6 separate regions of the Homo sapiens genome follow, and all the other regions are linked to region 1. The links are contacts of gene promoters, found by promoter capture Hi-C in blood cells and fetal thymus (Javierre and others, 2016). All regions are on one chromosome and are shown on one strand. The core of a region is centred on a gene start or on the middle of the fragment in contact, and the rest is flanking DNA. Distances in the headings are between cores, read along the strand shown.

The links. The method cuts DNA at HindIII sites, captures the fragments that hold promoters and counts their contacts. A CHiCAGO score of 5 or more calls a contact.
Region 2: a contact is called between a fragment that was not itself captured here and the fragment with the promoter of SDSL in region 1, in 6 of 17 cell types (erythroblasts, megakaryocytes, M0 macrophages and 3 more). The highest score is 16.6, in erythroblasts.
Region 3: a contact is called between the fragment with the promoter of OAS2 here and the fragment with the promoter of SDSL in region 1, in 2 of 17 cell types (total B cells and fetal thymus). The highest score is 6.0, in total B cells.
Region 4: the fragment with the promoter of RASAL1 here is called in contact with the fragment with the promoter of SDSL in region 1 in 11 of 17 cell types (megakaryocytes, neutrophils, total B cells and 8 more); the score reaches 10.1 in megakaryocytes.
Region 5: a fragment that was not itself captured here is called in contact with the fragment with the promoter of SDSL in region 1 in 1 of 17 cell types (erythroblasts); the score reaches 5.2 in erythroblasts.
Region 6: a contact is called between a fragment that was not itself captured here and the fragment with the promoter of SDSL in region 1, in 1 of 17 cell types (megakaryocytes). The highest score is 5.3, in megakaryocytes.

What each region holds. Positions count from the first base shown.
Region 1 is chr12:113,421,103-113,424,540 of GRCh38, reverse strand. SDSL (serine dehydratase like) reads right to left here and starts at 2,161. Exons shown (of 8, transcript NM_001304993.2): 1 at 2,064-2,161. The HindIII fragment of the contact is 13,599 bases long and covers 1-2,369 here.
Region 2 is chr12:113,912,259-113,915,408 of GRCh38, reverse strand. It overlaps RBM19 (RNA binding motif protein 19), which reads left to right. Exons shown (of 24, transcript NM_016196.4): 21 at 324-440. Among named protein-coding and RNA genes, the nearest start is that of RBM19, 52 kb to the left of the region's middle. The HindIII fragment of the contact is 6,170 bases long and covers 1-3,150 here.
Region 3 is chr12:112,976,900-112,980,235 of GRCh38, reverse strand. It overlaps OAS2 (2'-5'-oligoadenylate synthetase 2), which reads right to left and starts at 1,717. Exons shown (of 10, transcript NM_002535.3): 1 at 1,451-1,717. The coding sequence starts at 1,627. RefSeq lists enhancers at 553-702, 813-892, 1,063-1,142, 1,363-2,172. The HindIII fragment of the contact is 12,087 bases long and covers 1-3,336 here.
Region 4 is chr12:113,134,481-113,137,623 of GRCh38, reverse strand. It overlaps RASAL1 (RAS protein activator like 1), which reads left to right and starts at 1,863. Exons shown (of 21, transcript NM_001301202.2): 1 at 1,863-2,226. The coding sequence starts at 2,162. RefSeq lists a silencer at 1,737-1,876. The HindIII fragment of the contact is 4,772 bases long and covers 1-3,143 here.
Region 5 is chr12:113,872,363-113,875,620 of GRCh38, reverse strand. The region is part of intron 21 of RBM19 (RNA binding motif protein 19); the gene reads left to right. Among named protein-coding and RNA genes, the nearest start is that of RBM19, 92 kb to the left of the region's middle. The HindIII fragment of the contact is 5,903 bases long and covers 1-3,258 here.
Region 6 is chr12:113,827,547-113,830,688 of GRCh38, reverse strand. All of the region lies in intron 23 of RBM19 (RNA binding motif protein 19), which reads left to right. Among named protein-coding and RNA genes, the nearest start is that of LINC01234, 55 kb to the right of the region's middle. The HindIII fragment of the contact is 6,564 bases long and covers 1-3,142 here.

The DNA of each region.
Region 1 (3,438 bases), core at 912-3,411:
ACAAGATAGACATCAACCTTGGAGCTGAATTATAGCCTGATGAGATGGGCACTTAACAAATAACTGCATAGACAAACAAAATAATCAGAAATGTTGAAAACTTCTAAGAGGGAAACACGCATATAGGGAGTCCTAAAGAGAAGAACAAGGGGACCTACTTTGGGTATGGAGGTCAGGAAAGACCTCTTAGAGGAAGTGACCATTAAAACTAAGAACTGAGACAGGGCGCGGTGGCTCATGCCTGTAATCCCAGCACTTTGTGAGGCAGAGGCAGGCGGATCACCTGAGGTCAAGAGTTCAAGACCAGTCTGGCCAACATGGAGAAACCCCGTCTCTACTAAAAATACAAAATTAGCCGGGCATGGTGGCGCATGCCTGTAATCCCAGCTACTCGGGAGGCTGAGGCAGGAGAATTGCTTGAACCTGAGAGGCGAGGTTGCGGTGAGGCGAGGTTGCAGTGAGCCGAGATCGCGCCATTGCACTCCAGCCTAGAGAGTAAGAGGGAAACTCTGTCTCAAAAAAAATAATAAAAAATTAAAAATTAGACCCGAAAAATGAGAACCAACCAACCACACAACAAACTGCAAGAAGAGCGTGTACATGGCAGGACTATTGTGAGGATTCAATGAGCCTGCATGGTAAGGGCACCCATGTTGGGTGTCTGTCCACTTGGAATTGGGTCTCTCTTCCTTTTTGGTGAAATCCCCAGATTTTTCCCCTGGGGATCCTGGGATTGTCAGGATGAACTCCCCCTACTCCATAATCCTTCCGCTTTCTTGTTTTTTTGGTGTTTGTTTTAGAGACAAGGTCTCACTCTGTTGCCTGGGCTGGAGTGCAGTGGCACGATCATGGCTCACTGTAACCTTGAAGTCCCGGGCTCAAGCAATCCTCCCACCTCAGCTTCCTGAGTAGCTGGAACTGTAGACATGCACCACTGTATCCGGCTGATATTTTAATTTTTATAGAGATGCAGTTTTGCTGAGTTGTCCAGGCTGGTCTTGAACTCCTGGCCTCAGGTAAATCTCTTGTCTCTGCCTCTCAAAACACTAGGATAACAGGTGTGAGCCACCTGTTGGCTCACAACAGATGAGTCATTAACTCACCATTGACTCCATTTTATAAACAGTGAACCTGAGGTCCAGAGAGATTAAGTAACTTATCCAAGTTCACACAGTTAGAAACAGCATAGCCAGAATTCACACCAGGCAGTGTCTTTGGCATCTGTGCTATTAACCGCGATGCTATACTTTCTCTAATATACTAGTGTTATCGTTACTATTATGAAAGCTGCATGCATTTAATATTTATTGCCAATTGTCCTTTGGAACCAAATGCTCCTGGCTCAGTTTCCAGGCTTCCCCAGCCCTCTTGGTTATACTGACTCACAAGAGGACAGCAGGCATCAGTTAAATGAAAAAGCCCCAAGTTGCCAACAGCCTTATCAACCCCAGACCCCATCAGGCACCTGAGGTCTGGGACTGAGCTGTCTTGGCCCAGGGACACACACCTCTTGTCCCGTATGGCAGCCACCAGGGCTGAAATGGGGGACCTGGGTCTCCCTGCTGTGGAATAACCCAGGGGAAAGCAGGGGGCTCAGGCTCAGGTCCCAGTCATGCCAACCTTGGCCAAGTCACTTTTGTCACTGGGCCTTACCTGTCACATCTATGAGTTGAGGTAAGGACCACCAGTGCTGTCCACCTCACTTGTCCCCAAAGCCTTTCCCCAGAGGCCACCTTGGTGGCACTCCACAGCCAAATCCCTGGTGCCAGGGCTGGGACACCTCGGGCTGGCCCCTTGGCTGGCAGAATGCCCAACCCTGCCCCTCTGGCAGGCAGAACCCACTCTCGCCCTTCAGGGTCCCCAGCACAACACTTTCTTCTGCAGGGCACCCTGAATTCAATCGACATTCCCAGGAGGGCCTAGAACACGCTCAGGCCCTCTCACTCCCACCTGCTCAGCTTGGACTTTGCCCAAAGCCTCCCAAACTCCTGCAGCCTCTCATCAGCCTCTCATTCACACACACACTGAGCCCCAGGGGCCCCAGCTGGCCCCAGACCCCTTACCTCCCTGCCCAACTATCCCAGACCAGCGTGGCCCCAGCTCCTGCCCTCCAGCCTGCCAGGGAACCAGCTCTTTCCAGGAACCGGCTCTGTCCAGCTTCAGGCAGCTTCCGGCAACCTTGGTCCCTCCTCCTTTGTTAAAGAGAAAGCTCCAGACCCTAAGCCTCCGGGTGAAGACGGAGGAGGAGAGGGGATGAGAGCAACCCTCACCGCTTTCCCGGGCACTGCCTATGACTCATGCACCACCCTGTCTCATTTGACAGATGAGCAAACTGAAACTCAGAAAAGGGAACTTATTTGGCCAAAGCTTCCCAGACAGCAAGGGGCAGAGACAGCCTTTACCCCTGGCCCTGGGCCATCTCTTCCGGGATGCAGGCATCTCCATGTCTTCTCATTTTAGGTCTAGTGATTGTCCCGGATGCTGAACCACTGTTGGGGTCAGCTTAGGTCTGGGATGGGAAAACAAGGACAAGGGAACTTTTTTTTTTTGAGACACAGTTTCATTCTTGTCCCCCAGGCTGGAGTGCAATGGTGCGATCTCGGCTCACTGTTACCTCCGCCTCCTGGATTCAAGCGATTCTCCCACTTCAGCCTCCCAAGTAGCCAGGTTTACAGGCACCCACCACCACGCCAGCTAATTTTTGTATTTTTAGTAGGGACAGGGTTTGACCATGTTGGCCAGGCCAGTCTCGAACTCCTGTCCTCAGGTGATCTGCTTGCCTCTGCCTCCCAAAGTGCTGGGATTACAGGCGTGAGCCACTGCACCTGGCCAAGGAAACAATTATTATAATTATTATTTGTGACATGGGAAAGGTATATTTTTGTCTGAAGCACCTCTCCGTCTCGGATATTTTACACGCAGCATGAGAACCCAAGCAATTATTTGCTACTCAGATGAATGACTGACCATTCATTCATTCATTAAATGTTTATTGGACACCTACTATGTGCCAATCCCTGGAACTTTGGCCTCAAACAAAATAGCATGTCCTCTGCCTTCACAAAGCCCTTAGAGAGGGCCATTAGAGAGCACTTATTAGTGCTATCAGATGTTAGCAGCTGGCAGGGTGGGGCAGGGCTGTGGAACCCAGAGCAGGCACCCCGCCTGGCCCTGGGGGGCTGGGGAGGCTTCCTGGAGGAGGGGAAGTCTGAGTGGAGCCAGGAGTCAGGCACAGGGAGTGCAAAGGTCTGGAAATGAAAAACATGATATATTCCAGGGTCAGGGTAGTATCCAGTGGGGCTGGGAGGGAGAAGGCAGGGGTGGGGAAGCAAGTGGGGTTGAGGCTGGAGATGTGGGCAGAGATCAGAGTCCACAGGGATGCCTGTACCAATCCAGAGTTTGGACCTTACCCAGGGGCACTAGGGAGCCACAGAAGGC
Region 2 (3,150 bases), core at 183-2,682, 490 kb before region 1:
AAAGACACAATGGAGATTGGGTTTGGTGAGAAACCAGCCCCACCCTTAGCGGGGCTCCTTAAGTCCCTGGTGGCCCCGGAGTCTCTCAAATGAAGGTCAGCAGCCACCCAAGCACGGATGTGTCCCCCTGACGTCTGCAGCTGTTTTGGGTCCTATCACCTGGTGGGAGACGGCCTTCCTCTCCTTTCACGTTGGTCCCGCACCCCACGCACACTCCTTGAATCCATCACCTGAATATTCTGATGGAGGCGTAGTGGAGTCAATGTTGGGCAGGAGCTGCTGAAGCTCCGAATAACTTGGACCCTCTCCCCCCACCACTCCAGGCCAGCCGTGACATTGGCTCGGAAGAAACAAGTTCCCAGAAAGCAGACCACCTCCAAGATCCTGGTGCGGAACATCCCCTTCCAGGCCCACAGCCGGGAGATCCGAGAGCTCTTCAGGTGAGAACTTCAGGTTTAGTCCAGGGGACTGGCGTGTGGGCGGGGAGCCTGCCCGAGTCTCAGGGAAGATGGCCTTTGGGTCCTGGATGGTTCCGTTGCAGGCCGGCACAGTGGTCTTTCAAAGGTCATCTTTTGGCTGCTTTTGATTTATCTCCCTTAATCTCAGATGTGGCTCCCCAGAGCACTGTGCAGGAAAAAAGTCAAAACAGCCAGGCTTCCCCCTCTCCGAGGCAGATGGAGAAAGGGCAGGCAGGCTTCCCTGTCCCCATCCACAACGTGCAAGAGGGGCAGGGGCCCCAGTGGCTAAAACCCAGCCCTACCCATGATCTGCTTGAAATTTCCTCCATCCAGGCTACCCCTTTGGTTTAAGGTGCTGGTTTTCCACCTTAGCCACACATTCCAGCCACCTGGCAATGGCTAAAATACACCTTTCCCGAGGCTGCACCCCCAGAGAGTTGGATTCCATTTTTCAACAGTGGGGTCTAGACATCGGTGTTTTGCTAAAAGCTCCCCAGGGGATCCTAATGTCCAGCCGGGGTTGGGGACCAGTGGCCTAAATGACTCTATGGAAATGAAGGCGAATTACCTGCACACATAAAGCAGTCCGTCAGCACCTGCTTGCACAGGGGTGGAAAATGCAGCTGTCGCAGGGACCCAGCCGGTAACGGCAGCAGGCTGGGTGGGGACTGAGCAGCAGGCGGGCCTCTCTCTGGTCATCCAGCTGGGATGCCATGCAGGAACTCAGGCTTCGTAAGACCAGTTCCCATGTTTTGAAAGAGAAACCAGCCATGTGGATTCTTAAGGAGAATTCATCAGCAACTAATTCACTTTTTAAAAACAAAACAAGTCTGGCCTGCCCCAGGGCCCCTAGTTGGTGATCCCTACGCTGCCATGTTACAGTGTTTGGCTTTTCAGATTAGGTAGGCACCACCCAGCACCAAGCCATGAATGAAAGAAACGTCCTCATATCAGGGCCTAAGGGGAATGCTTGAAGCCAAGGCCCCCCCACCCAAGGCATGGGCAGGGTAATAGAGAGACCATCTAGCTCTCAGAATGCAAAGGCAGATGAAGTCAGCTTCACCTAAACACATTGTTGAGGCTTCGGTGGGATCCAGGACTGCTCGGGGGACCTGCAGCACCATGGCCTGCGCGTGGGTGAACATTTAGGATTCTAGACACTAGGTCTCGTTCGTTCATTCTACACTTGCACAAGGGTCCAAGAGTGAAGCCTCTGTTAGAGTTGCCAGTTAGCATCTTGCAAGGTAATCTGTGGTTACAAAATCAGCCTTGTGTTTTGGAGATGAGAAACAATTATCTTTGTGTGGCATCTACCTTCTTTGCTCTCACTCTGTAGTTTGAAGAATAAGAAGTCATGTGGGGAACTTCAGATATCTTTGTCCTCCTTTTCCCCTCTGTTTGTTCTAAATCATACACTAGTATTCAGTTCATAAACAGATGTGGTGTGTGGTGAGCTGGGATCTGAGGCAGAGACCAATCCTGCCAGTATCTGGGAAGCAGGATCTTAGCTATGATCTCCGGGTATCCTGCACAGCAGGAATAGCCTGGCGAGATGGGGTCATGACCTGGGGGGAGGTTTCCCATTTCCCTAAACCTCGACTGATCAGTCGTCCCTCCAGGAAGGTACATATCCTTAGCCTCTCGGTATGTCTGCTTGTTTAAACATGCTCTGCTTTTTAAAAGGAGTCCAACTTAAGAACTGCCAGATTAAAACGGGCTTGCTAAGAAGAGCGCATGTTGATCGGGAAATAATATCCCGCTGAAATGACAGTTTCACTTGGTTCTGCAGTATATTTAGGATGACACTTATCCGGGGAAACAAAAGACCACAAGGGAAGAGAGAGCACTTTGTGTGATCTCATGTATTATATTTATTTTTAGAAGACAGGGAATTAGTGTCCACTGAACATAATTACATGTGGTGACTCTTCTCCTTGCCATTGTTCTGATGAGAGTTTTCTTAAAACCCTGGAAACGTAAGACCTTCTTGGAGGGCCGTACCTGCTATTGTTGTTCACTCCGGCTGGGGATGTAAGGCAGTTCCTCGTTGCAGACAGCAGGGGTCGCTGTGAGCCTTCTCAGGGACTTCAAGATTGTCCAGGGAAGCCCCAGACAGGATTTCAGACAAAGCCACTGGCCGGTAAAGGTCATTAGCCAGGGGGAGGTTTCAGGGTTTCGGGGAACCAAGCTGGTCCATTTGGGCAGGCAGGTTCTATGGGTTTCTCCTACCAGGTGTAGTAAAAATCACAACTCCCTTTTATTACACGCTTGCTGTGTGCGGGGCTCTGAGCTTGAATGCCTTCCCGTGCAGAATCACCTCTTTTAAGCCGCACAGCAGCCCTGCGAGGGATGGATGCTGTCATTCCTTTTGCACCCAGACAGAAACTGGAGATGGAAACTAGGGAGATGGAGTGTCCTGCCTGGGACCATGCCGCTGAATGGGGATTTGGATCTAAGTCAGCCTAACCCAGAGCCCCGGCTTGGAGCCACTCCTCTCTGCTGCCTGTTTTCTTGGGTCTAGAAGGAACTGTCTTCCTCCAGATCATTCCAGTGGGACCAAATGACAGCGAGTGTGTCATTTATACCAGGCACTGTGCTAGGCACGAGGCATGTAGCCATTTCAGGAGAGACTCAGGTCTCTCTGTGGGGGACCAGAGAGGAAACTGACAGGGACAGCCAGTGGGACAGGTGT
Region 3 (3,336 bases), core at 468-2,967, 440 kb after region 1:
GATCAATGTTTGAGGTGATGGATATCCTAACTACCCTGATCATTTCACATTGTATCCATGTGTCCAAATATCACATGTACCCCATATAAATATGCACAATTATGTAAAAATAAAAAAACACAGTAGAATGGACAAATGTGGAATATTCACATAATGGAATTGACACAACAATGAAAAGATAAACAACTGTACCCCACAACATAAATTTCATAAACATCATAGGTCAGAGAAACCACGCACTAAAGCACACAGAGCCCATGATGCCATTTATGTAGGGTTCACCCATGCATCCTGGTTTACATTCCCAGCTTTCACACCAAGAGTCCCACATCCCAGGAAACACCCCAATCTTGGATGAACTGGGATAGTTGGTCACCCTATAATTGTAAAACGTTTAAAAACAGGCAAAACGTGTCTATGCTGTTAGAAGTCAGGAGATTGCCTACCTGGGTTTGGAGGTGCTGACTGGATCGGGGGCCCAGGGCTCTGGGGGGCTGAGAATGTTTTGTTTCTGGATCTGGGTGGGGGTTACACAGTTACATTGTTTGTGGCTACCTATCAAGCTGGACACTTTGATCTGGGCACTTTTTCTGTTTTACTTCCATGAGGAAAAAAAAATTGAGAGGCAGGATAGTGTAGTGGTTAAACATGCATGCCCTCAAGCCAATTACCCAGGCTTAAAATCCCAGTTCTGACAATAGCTATTAACCAAACTTGCCTTAGCTTGCTGGCCTGGGCCAGGGCTGGGGACACCACGTGTCTAGATTTCTTTATTGAGGCACTAGCGGATGTGTGCAAGGGGTAGAGACCAAAAAGTGTGGCAGCAGCAGAGAAGGGACGTCAGCAGCTCAGGAGGCTAAGAGGATAGTATTGGGCCATCAGGACCCCCACGCCCCCAATTCTAGGGTCCTGGCATCTCCCCAGTCCCCCTTCCTCCCCAGAGGTCCAGAATTTTCAGCCTCAGTCCTGAGATTTGTGTCCACAAAACCAAATATTTCTAACTGATAAAAGCCACTCCTTCTTGCTGCGGAGAAACCACAAGGCAACCTGGGTAGTTTGAACAAAGTTCTCTAGCCTCCCTAAGTTTACTCCTCTGTACTGTGGAGAGGATAGAAGAAAATCGCAGTGAGTAATCACAGTGAATTCACTGAGCACTGCCAGTCTTTTGCTAAGAACATGATGTGCTCAAGCCTTACGATACTCTGAAGTGGGTATTATGCCTCTCCCCATTTTACAGAGTCAGAGACTGAGGCACAGAGAGGTTAAGTAGCCTGCCCAGTGTCACACAGCTCTGGAGCAAGCGCCTGCTCCAGAGCCTGAGACTCCTACACCACATCCCACCCAAGTGTGGGCCTCGCACATAATAGGCACCCAGCACCCAGTAGCTCGGCCTTGCTGCCGCCGTGGAATCTCCTGCCTCCCAGAGACCCAACCTCAGCCCTGGACTCACTATGGCCACTCCCTGCACCAGGGGGAACTGTTCGGGTTCCTGCAGGACGTCACAGATGGTGTTCACCATCTCGTCGATCAGTGTCTGACATTCTTCGTAGGGCTTCAGGTATTCCTGGATAAACCAACCCAGCTTCTGAGCAGGCACCGAGGACAGCTGGGACTCCCCATTTCCCATTGCTCTCAGCTGGCTGCCGGCAAGACAGTGAATGGTAGGATGGGAGGCAGAGGAATTCTTGCTGCTGCCCAGAGCCAGGAAACTGAAACTGAAGTCTAGAGGCCTCTCTCCACCCACTGCAGCGAGCTTACCAACTCTTGTATCCGGGACAGGGAAACAAAACTAACTTAAGCTCAGAGGCTCTGCCCTGCCCCTTGCAGTGAGTTTACCAACTCCTGCATCCGGGGCAGGGAAACCAAAACTAACTTAAGCTCAAATGCTCTTCCCCGCCCCTTGCAGCAAGGTTTACTGACTCCTGCACCCCAGCAGGGAAACCAAAACTGACTCAAGCTCAGAGGCTTTCCCTGTCCCCGGCAGCGTGGTGACCAGCCCTTCAGGGGCTCCCCAAAACTTGAGGTTAACTAAACAGCCTCTAGAACCCCATTGTGAGGGCTTCATACCTGCTAGATGTCTGTCCTTGAGCACATCGCCTGCCCTCTTCGCGCCTCAATTCCCCCATCTGTAAGCTGGGGGAAAATGGCAGCTCTCTCGTAGGATTAGCTTGATGATTAAATAATACCTGCAAAGTGCTTAGAAGCAGGGGCGCACAGGTCATCTTTTGAGGCTCTGTCCCTTTCCCCCTGTTCTCAGTGGCCAGGGAACTCACATTCAGGGAAAGCGGCAGAGAGGAAAAAGAGACCCAGAGAGGGAACTGACTTGCTCAGGGACACACAGCAAAGCAGGGACCTAGCTGGACTCAGGTTTTGGTCTGCTTCTGGGTAAACACAGGCCCCCGTGTGGTCAGCGGGTGGGAACCTCTGTGTGTCCAGTTTCTCAGCACACTTGTGGACAGCCGAGGGACCGTATGAGGCACTTGTCCAGCCTCGCAAGGGCAAGAAAACACACCCCAAGTGTGTGAGCCAGAAAGGAGACAGACATGCAACTCCTGTGCCCAGAGCTTTGAAAACAAAACTCGCAGAGGACTCCCAGCCAGCTGCCTTGGCCCAGCAATAATAATTCACAGAGAAGGCAAAAATCTCCAAGATGTAGTGGGGGACCAGGGCCCTTCCATACTGGGATGGTTAATTTTATGTGTCAAGTTGGCTGAGCCCAGGTACCCAGATATTTGGTCAAACATTATCCTAGATCTTTTTGTGAAGGTATTTTTTAAAGATAAGATTAACATTTACATTGGTAGACTTTTTTTTTGAGTAAAGTGGATTATCATCTGTAAGGTGGTGGGCCTGATTCAATCAGTTGAAGGCCTTAATAGACTAAAGACTGAGCTCCCCCAAGGAAGAGGGAATTCGGCTGCAGTGCCTTGGCCTCCACTTGCAGCAGCAACTCCTTCCTGGGTCTCCCACCTGCCAGTCTACCCTGCCGATTTTGGATTTGCCAGCCTCCACAATCACATGAGCCAATTCCTTAAAATAAATACCTCAAAATAAATATAAATACCCTGTTAGTTCTGGAAAAACCTCGATTAATGCACATGCTCATTAAGGGCCTTTCCTGCCCTTATCCAACTTTTACTGCAACACCGAGAGGTAGGCAGGCTGGGCAGGCGTAGTCCTAAGGTTCCTTTTTCAGATGAGAACATGGAGGCTCACAAAGGTGGAAACATTTGCCCGTGATCACACAGCTAGGAAGTTGTCAGGCTAGGTTCTCACACTAACACACTGCCTGACTCCAAAGCCTGTGCTTTATTTGTTATTTAAAAAAACACTTTA
Region 4 (3,143 bases), core at 614-3,113, 290 kb after region 1:
GATTGCTTGAGATCAGGAGTTCAAGACCAGCCTGGCCAACATGGTGATATAAAAATACAAACTATAAAAATCTACTAAAAATACAAAAATTAACCGGGCATAGTAGTGGGTGCCTGTAGTCCCAGCTACTCAGGAGGCTGAAGCAGGAGAATCACTTGAACCCAGGAGTGGAAGTTGCAGTGAGCCAAGATCGAGCCCTGCCCTCCAGCTGGGCAAAAAAAAAAAAAAAAATCACAGTGGGATGACTCCTTTGGGGCTATTACTGTTCTGGATCTAACCCTGGATTACCCCTCATGCCCCGCTGAGGATGTTGCAATACTTCTAAGCCTTGGAGCCTGTTCTGCTAGGTCCATTTCCCAGATGGGATTAACTGAGACCCCATCTCTGGTGGGTCAGAGACTCACCAGGCAGCCACCAGCTGGGGAAGGAATTCCAGGGCTCTGAGTTCCTCATCAGCCTGTCTGGGTTGCTGGGTGGGGAGTCAAGAAGGGAGACTGGGAAGCAGACCATTGGGCTGCTGACGGATCCAGGAAGGGCACTCCTGGTCTCACCGGTCTGGGCGTTGGCTCCCGCACTCAGTCTGCAGGGGCACTCCCATTGGTGCCTGGCCTTTCTAAGAGGTCTTGGGCAGGTCAACAATGAATTCACAGGGAGAAATAAGTGTGCGAACGGATCTGTTCTGGGACAGGCCCTGCCTGTCATATTATCTCATTTAAAATCAGAAAAATGTACAAACCTGGAGCCACTGGAGCAGAGAGAAAGGAAAGAAAATCTCTACCGGAGTGGAAGGGCATCCTGGAAGCCTTCCCAGGAGAGGTGACGCGTGGCCCACGCCTCAAAGGACAACAATCAGAATATCAAACACTTTCTGGACGTGTATTAGGTACTTGTCACTGTCCTGAGACTTTTATCTTCATTAACTCTTTTAATTCTTTCAAAATCCTGTGACTGAAATGCAATGTCATCCTCACTCAACAGATGAGAAAACCAAACCAAAGCACAGAGAGGTTGAATGGCTTACCCAAGTCCAGACAGCTACCAAATGGCAGAGCCAGGATTCGAACCCCTGGAAGGCAAATCAGTTACTGACTGTGAGACCTCTGCCAAGTTATTTAATCCCTCTGAACCTCAGTTTCTTTATCCATAAACTGCGGATAATGGGGTAACAGTGGAGTAGTGTGTAGTGCACATCTGGAGACAAAAATGAGCTAATCCCAGTAAAGCGCTTAGAACAGTGCCTGGCACCCATGAAGTGTTCAAACAACTGTAGATGACTTTTTATCATCGCTGTAGTGGTTATCTTCAAGCCTTCCCCTCCCCCATCTGGCCGCGGCTTCCTCCCCCGCAGTGCCAGCCCGTGACGTTAGAGCAGAGTCTGGGTTCTGTGTTTAACTGGAAACTAGAACGAGATGGAAGGGGATGTTCAAGGCCCCTCCCTTGACTCTGAACGGACCCCCAGGGAACATGCGACCCTCTCTCTGGCGACGCCTCCCACCCACCACTAATACTTGCTCCTGGACCGGGGGGCGCGGAGGTTGGAGAGAGGAGGCAGGTGTCTGCATGGTAGGCAAGGAGGGGTGGGGGCGGAGAGGTGTGAATATGTTGGATGAGGGACAGGCGGGGGCACAGACCATGTCTTTTAAGCCCAATGCCAACTCACCAGGAGCCAGCGGCCACGCCCATCAGGACGGGGGCCCCTCCCCACCTGGCGGTGCACCCTTGTCTCCGCCGCCCGTGCGCTCTGGCGCGCATGACTGGGGTGCCGGTAGAGGGCGCGCGAGGGGGCCCGGGGTCAGGTGGGGGACCCCATTGGAGGCGGGATTGTGGGGAGGTCCCTGGGCCGCCCCTCCCGCCCCCTGCCCGCCCAGCCTGCTTGTCTGGAGCTCCAGACGCCTCGGCAAGAGCCCGCTGCGCCCCCTGCGCGCTCCTCCTGCTCGGAGCACGGCTCCTACCTGTAGAGTCCGGACGGGCGCTCCCTCCCCGGGCACCTACACCTTCTCCTCTTTCGGAAATCTCCCATCCAGCTACCCGGGTCTCGGACAGGCGGCACTGGGACCACGAGGCAGGGAGCCAGGCTTGAAGCAGGTGACATGTAGACGTCCCCTGGTCCAGCCTCGGAACCTGAGCGCCCTTCTGCCTGGAAAGTTTGTGGCTAGGCGCCATGGCCAAGAGCAGCTCCCTGAATGTTCGCGTGGTGGAGGGCCGCGCGCTGCCTGCCAAGGACGTGTGAGTACTCCTCGGGCGCTTCTGGGTGAGGGGCGCGCAAGGCCTGGGGTGGGGCCGACGTCGCCCTTTCCGCGTGCCAGGGCGGGTTGGCAGGAGGGCGAGGGGTTCTTGTCCAAGACTGGTCTTGGGGCAGTTCCGCTTTAAAGGGGCGAGAGGCCGCATGCCCATGGCTGTCCCGGTGGGAGGGGGGCGCCTAGAGTTAGCAGATGCCCCGCCTCACCCCCGGGCAGGGGAGGGGGTGTCTTTGTTCCCGGGATGTACTAAAGGGGGTCGTCCAGAGCTGAAGAGGGGATTAGAGGGCCATATTCTGTCAGATCTGGGAGGGGAGAAAGCGGGGGGTCTCTTCCTTAGTCCAGGCAGATGTTGGAGGTGGCTCCTCCAGGCGTGGGTGGGGGCCTAGCAAGGGAACCCTGGGGAGGACCCTTGGAGAGGGCCTGGGATCAGATGAGCCCTAACATCCTGTGTGGATCTGGTGCTTAGGTTTGCAGAGTGTCACCAGGTGGCCCTCCAGGGTCCTTTTGACCCCAAGCCCTGAGCTCCCCAGTCTTGTGGCTCCCAGCCTCGTGTGGGCCTTCCCCGGGTGCTGAGCTGCTTGAAGAGCCAATTCCTTGCTGCGACCCCCTCCCCAGCCAGGTGCAATGGGACTGGGGGACCCTACGGCTCCCTTCACTACTAGTCCCAAGCTATGCTTCCCCCAGGGCTGAGTCAGCAGCTGCTGAATCAGCAGAATATGGGGGGCGGGTTCCCCCTCCTGCTTGGCATAGTGCCCAGAAGGGGCTCTGAGGGCCTTAGCACCTGCGACAGGTGTGGGATCCTCTGGAGGACATTTGTTGTGTGACCTTGAACCTGCTTCTCTCTGGGCCTTGGTTTCCCATTTGGGCAATGAGAGCTCTGGACCGGAGTCCCCATCTGGTTGC
Region 5 (3,258 bases), core at 184-2,683, 450 kb before region 1:
TCTTATTAAGAAAAGAGACTCCCACCTACATACACCAAGATGTCCAAGGGCTGTCCCGACTTGGGCTGTCACATTTGCGTGCTCTGACTCACATGTTCTGCCTTTTCCTATCACCACCAGGAACCAGCCTTCCAGAGTCCATTCCTCTCGGTCCTGGACTCCAGGCCACGCACAGACCCGATTAGACCTCTTGGGCTCTCAGCTTCTGACTCACCATCCAATTCTAAACTTTTGTAATTGAATCGAGTTCTTTGTTGGTTTATTTGGCCTCAAACAAATGGTCCAACTCGCAGATTCATTTCAACCCTTCCCTGCATCTTAAAACTCACCAGTCATCCTGAGCTCGGCTTGTTTTATTGTTGTTTTCTTTCCCAGACTTTTAAAAATAATATTTGTCCCAGCAGGGTGATTCGTTCTCCTCCCCATGAGCACTGGCAGGCTCTGCGGCATGAATCACTCGCTCCCGTGCTCCCTGTCCCCTGACATGTCCCTGGGAGGCCTCCAACGCTTTCTGTCGAACGGTCCGCACCGTGGCTTCGCCGCTTGCATCTTCTGCAGAGGTGTCTTGGCTGTCATCTCCTGGTTGACAGTAGGCCTGGCTTTCTTGAGAAGCTCAGATGTTGAAGCTACTCAATTACCTGAAGTACACCCCAATCTGTACCCCACTGGTCTGGAAAAGTGGTCCCCTCATGGCTGTGACCTCTTGGTCTGGGACTTCCCAGGGAGACTCAGTGACCATGCCCGCTCCCTCTTTTCAGCCGTTGTGTAGGGCCATTTGGATGCTTTGGCCTTTTGCCAAGAGGATGGGGAGCATCTGAACTGGGCTTTCCAACATCATGGGGGTTCTGGAGTGTTCCTCCTCATGGCAGGTGTCAGAAACCTCTAGAATGCTAGCTCTTCAGAAGCCGCCTTCCCTATCCATCATCATCTCCTCAGCCTCTTTTTCCACTTCTGCCATCATTTCCCAGTGGCTGGCGGGCTCCAGCTAGAACATAAGGACTGAGTTCAAGGGCTGAAGCTGGTTACTGTCCCCAGGGTGGGGCACAGTGTGCCAAAGCAAAATCCACAGTCAGACAGACCCACACGCAAGTCCTGTGACCTCAGATAAGACCTCCCCTCGAGGTCTCACATGCGTCCTGGGAGGCCTGCCGCCCAGTGGGTCTGCTCTGGGCCTAAAGGGAGGCAGCGCGTGTAGAGCATTTGGCATGGCCAGGGCAGGTGCTCAGCAAGTGCCGCTTCCTCCCACTCCCCGTTTCTTATTTCAGGTATTGAGAGCCCGATCATGAGAGGGGCCAGAAATCAGAAAATCCAGGAAAAGACAAGCATCCATTAATAACTCCATTCATCAGCACTCCACAGACACTTTTTAGTGGGCACCTACTGTGTGCCAGGTGCTGTTGGAACTGTTCTGGGTGCCGGCCATTCAGTAGTTAGCAAGGAAGACCAACCATAAACAAATAGAGGGGAAAAAATGTGCAATAGAATGCAAAGTCCCATAACATCGAGGTGACAAATGAAGCAGGGTGACAGCAAATGCTAGTCGTGTGCAGACAAGCAGCCTGGGTCGGAGCACCTTTGAGGTGGCACCCTCCACCTTGCTGCTGTTCTCTGTTTCCATTTAGCAGGGCGGTGACTGGGTTTCTAGGTTCATCTGTTTGTCTCTGTGCTAAGCAGGTCTCCAGGGTGATGGCGAGATATCTGGCTCTTGGCCCTCTGGGGCACAGCACTCCCCACTTGGTCCAGACACGTGTAACTCAGCTCATCACCCGCACCATGCGTCTCATTTCTCCCATCACTGAACAATGAGGGGTTTCCCCAGTAAGTGACTTTGCCACCTTATACCTTTAAGTATCAGCCCTCTGAAAATGTTGACCATTCAGTGGAAATCTTCCTAAAATACACAGTGCCTTTTCTTTTTTTTTTTTTTTTTTAATTTATTTTTTTATTGATAATTCTTGGGTGTTTCTCACAGAGGGGGATTTGGCAGGGTCATGGGACAATAGTGGAGGGAAGGTCAGCAGATAAACAAGTGAACAAAGGTCTCTGGTTTTCCTAGGCAGAGGACCCTGCGGCCTTCCGCAGTGTTTGTGTCCCTGATTACTTGAGATTAGGGATTGGTGATGACTCTTAACGAGCATGCTGCCTTCAAGCATCTGTTTAACAAAGCACATCTTGCACCGCCCTTAATCCATTTAACCCTGAGTGGACACAGCACATGTTTCAGAGAGCACAGGGTTGGGGGTAAGGTCACAGATCAACAGGATCCCAAGGCAGAGGAATTTTTCTTAGTGCAGAACAAAATGAAAAGTCTCCCATGTCTACTTCTTTCTACACAGACACGGCAACCATCCGATTTCTCAATCTTTTCCCCACCTTTCCCGCCTTTCTATTCCACAAAGCCGCCATTGTCATCCTGGCCCGTTCTCAATGAGCTGTTGGGTACACCTCCCAGACGGGGTGGTGGCCGGGCAGAGGGGCTCCTCACTTCCCAGTAGGGGCGGCCGGGCAGAGGCGCCCCTCACCTCCCGGACGGGGCGGCTGGCCGGGCGGGGGGCTGACCCCCCAACCTCCCTCCCGGACGGGGCGGCTGGCCGGGCAGAGGGGCTCCTCACTTCCCAGTAGGGGCGGCCGGGCAGAGGCGCCCCTCACCTCCCGGACGGGGCGGCTGGCCGGGCGGGGGGGCTGACCCCCCCCACCTCCCTCCCGGACGGGGCGGCTGGCCGGGCGGGGGGCTGACCCCCCCACCTCCCTCCCGGACGGGGCGGCTGGCCGGGCAGAGGGGCTCCTCACTTCCCAGTAGGGGCGGCCGGGCAGAGGCGCCCCTCACCTCCCGGACGGGGCGGCTGGCCGGGCGGGGGGGCTGACCCCCCCCCACCTCCCTCCCGGACGGGGCGGCTGGCCGGGCGGGGGGCTGACCCCCCACCTCCCTCCCGGACGGGGCGGCTGGCCGGGCAGAGGGGCTCCTCACTTCCCAGTAGGGGCGGCCGGGCAGAGGCGCCCTTCACCTCCCGGACGGGGCGGCTGGCCGGGCAGGGGGGCTGACCCCCCCCCACCTCCCTCCCGGACGGGGCGGCTGGCCGGGCGGGGGGCCGACACCCCCACCTCCCTCCCGGATGGGGCGGCTGGCCGGGCAGAGGGGCTCCCCACCTCCCAGTAGGGGCGGCCGAGCAGAGGCGCCCCTCACCTCCCAGACGGGGCGGCTGGCCGGGCGGAGGGCTGACCCCCCCACCTCCCTCCCGGACGGGGTGGCTGCCGGGC
Region 6 (3,142 bases), core at 10-2,509, 410 kb before region 1:
CGGGACACTCCCCTTGCTTCCCAGCCGCACAGGTCTGCCAGTATCTGTAACTAATACAAACATGTGGGACCAAGTCTAGAAGCCCCCAGGCATAGCCCACCCCCCCCCCCCCCGCCCCGCAGCCCTAGCTCAGGGTAACTCCATGGGTATCAGGGCTGCAGCACCTTCACCAGCCCCTGTGTATGGGGTTGTGCGTGGCCAGTCATAGAATTCTGCACACACACAAGACACCCAGAGCACAGAGGGAAGTTACTCCACCCACCGACCCACTCTCCAGCCACTCAGGGAGCCCAGGTCCTCAGCACCAAGATTAATAACATCAGTCATCATAGCAGTCATCATATCCCGTGCTCACCCCAGGCCATTTGCATCAGAACCTCTGGAGGTAGGATCCAGGCATCAGTGGGTTCCTAGCTGATGCTACCAGACAGCTGGATTGAGAACCAATGGCCTTTGAAAAGGAAATTGCTGCTACATAGCCTGGGTCTGTTCATGCTTTTCCTGTTGAGACCCCCATCCTAGGGAGGCTGGGCTAGTGTCCCCCTCTGCGGGGCAGGCTTTGCTATGCTGTGCCAGTAAGGCTGGAGCCAACCCTATCTGAGCTCAAGGTCCTGCTTGGAAAGTGTGACCACTTGACTCTTCAGAGTCCTAGTGCGGCTGCTTCCTCATCTGAAAAGTGGGACAATGATGTTGCCTAGCTGGTGGAATTTCTGTAGGAAAGTCCAGAGCCAGCCTGCTGCTTAGAGCCAGCAGGCGCCTGAGGAGTGGTCCCTGCAGCTCGCCCCTTGGCCTTATCTTGGGCAGCTGGATTTCCCCTTTGCTGGGCACTGCCTGTCCTCTGGGGTGGCCTCACAGGACCCTTTGATTGTTAGCTTTCATGTTTGCCTGGCACCTCAACGGGCCGGGCCCTGGGCTAAGTGCTCTCATGCTTTATCTCATCAAATCCCCTGTGGTGGGTGCTACTACTGTGTCCTGTCTGCAGAAGAGTAACTTTGGTAACTCAGAGAAGGCTGGGACCACCAAGTGGCAGCACTCAGGTCCCACCTCGTCCTGTCCACCCTGAGCCCCAGTGTGGCCCCCATGGCTGGTGGTTTAGTTTATCCTGTGGAGTTTTGTTCACTGCCATATCCCCAGCATCATTCCTGGCACATAGAATATGCTGGGTCATGCTTGCTAAGAGTGACTGAAGGCAGGAATCCTTACGGTCCCCATGAGATAAGCAGAGCAGGCACCGTCCCCGTTTAACAGGTGGGAACACTGAGGTAAGGAGCTTAGCAGCTCCTGGGAGTCCCACAGTGGCAGAGGCCAGTCTGCGGCCCAGGCTCCTGCCCACCCGCTCTGCACAAGGACCCTCTCAGATCATACCTAGTTCTTAGAAGGACTCGCTGTGTTTTAAAAAGGCACAACTGGCTGGACGTAGTGGCTCATGCCTATAATCCCAGCACGTTAGGAGGCCAAGGCGGGTGGATCACTTGAGCTCATGTCCAACATGGTGAAATCTCATTTCTACTAAAAATACAAAAATTAGTTGGGCCTGGTGGTGTACGCCTGTAATCCCAGCTACTTGGGAGGCTGAGGCACAAGAATCACTCAAACCCGGAAAGCAGAGGTTGCAGTGAGCCGAGATCGCTCCACTGCACTCACCTGGGTGACAGTGTGATTCTGTCTATTTAAAAAAAAAAAAAGGCACAGCCCTAAAACAGCCTCCTGTATCAATAAAGGGACATTGGCTTGGTCTTAGGAGCCAGGCCAGTCTCCTGAAGAGTACCCTTTATTCTGTGCGTACCTGATGTGTGCCTGCTGTACACAGAGCCCTGAGATGCAGACCTATCTGGGTAGGAGAGCTCTGCCCGTGGGGGCTGCAAGATATGAAGCCAGGGAGGACAGGGAGAGACCCATGCAGAGGCACCAGCAGCTGAGGGTGGGGGTCTGGTTCAGCCAGCCTTCCAGAGCAGGCAGCCTCCCAAGCCAGGCCAGCCCCCGGGTGCCCAGCCCCCCTGCGGTACCCACATCATGGCACCCTCATACTCCCCAAGGGTGGGAGCTACAGGTGGCTGGTGTCCCCCAGCAGCCTAGGACTGCACACCACTGAGTCTGAAGATTGTGGAGCCTCATTCTGGCCTCCACACTCTGCCCCAACCTCCTTCCTCCCCTCGCCCACCTGTGCCCCCGCCCCCTGCCCTTCACCCCGGCCTCTTGGAATCAGTTCTGTCTCCGACTTAGCGGAGTTTGTGGAAGCCTTGCCTATCCTGTGTCTCGGGAAGTAGCAACTCAGGAGCCTCCAGGAACAGGAAGAAAAGCCCCCATAAGTGAGGCTGCGTGTCTCCAGGGGCAGCTAGTGCACAGCCTCATCAGTTACCTGTAGGCAGGGAGGGGACAGGTCTGCCACACTCACAGGTTAGCCATTCCAGGTTCAAGAGAAACGAGAGGTGCAGATTCTTATGTAGCATCTCCCTGTTTTTGAACATTAGTCACTGATTTCTGTATTCATGGCAAATCATGTCAGCAAATCCAGACACTCTTCTGTGGGCCCACAGTGGGAGGCCCTGCTCCATCCCATTGGTCACTTTTTTTTTTTTTTTTTTTTTTGAGACAGAGTCGAGAGCTGCTGTTGCTATCATCGTGTTATAGAGGAGGGGAGCAGCCCACCCTCGTGCTCTCAGTAACAGATTCCATCAACAGCAGTAAGAATGACCAACCTATATTGACAGCTTGCCGTGTGCTAGGCACTATTGTGAGGGCCTTACATACATATATTCATTCTTTTAATACCCTCACACACCCTAGGCGTGTAGATTTCATCACCATTCAGTAACTGCAGAAACTGAGAGGAGCCCAGAGAGGTGAAGCAACTTACCCAAGGTTGCCCAGCCAGGAGCAGCAGGGTTTGATCCTGGCAGCTCACCCACCCAGCACCCTGCATCTAGCACCCTCCACCCTGTACCTCAGGCCTCTCCACTCAGAATCCAGCCCTGGGCTTCCTGGCCCAGTGCTTTTCCCCTCCCCGGACTGTTCACGCCTGCCTCATCCCAGGGTTCCTTTCAGAACTCCCTTCTCCCCTTATCAGCCACGCTCTTCTCCCCCGGCTTGCCTTTCCTCAACGTCTGCTTCCAGAACAAAACCCCAAGAAGCGCTTTCTCTT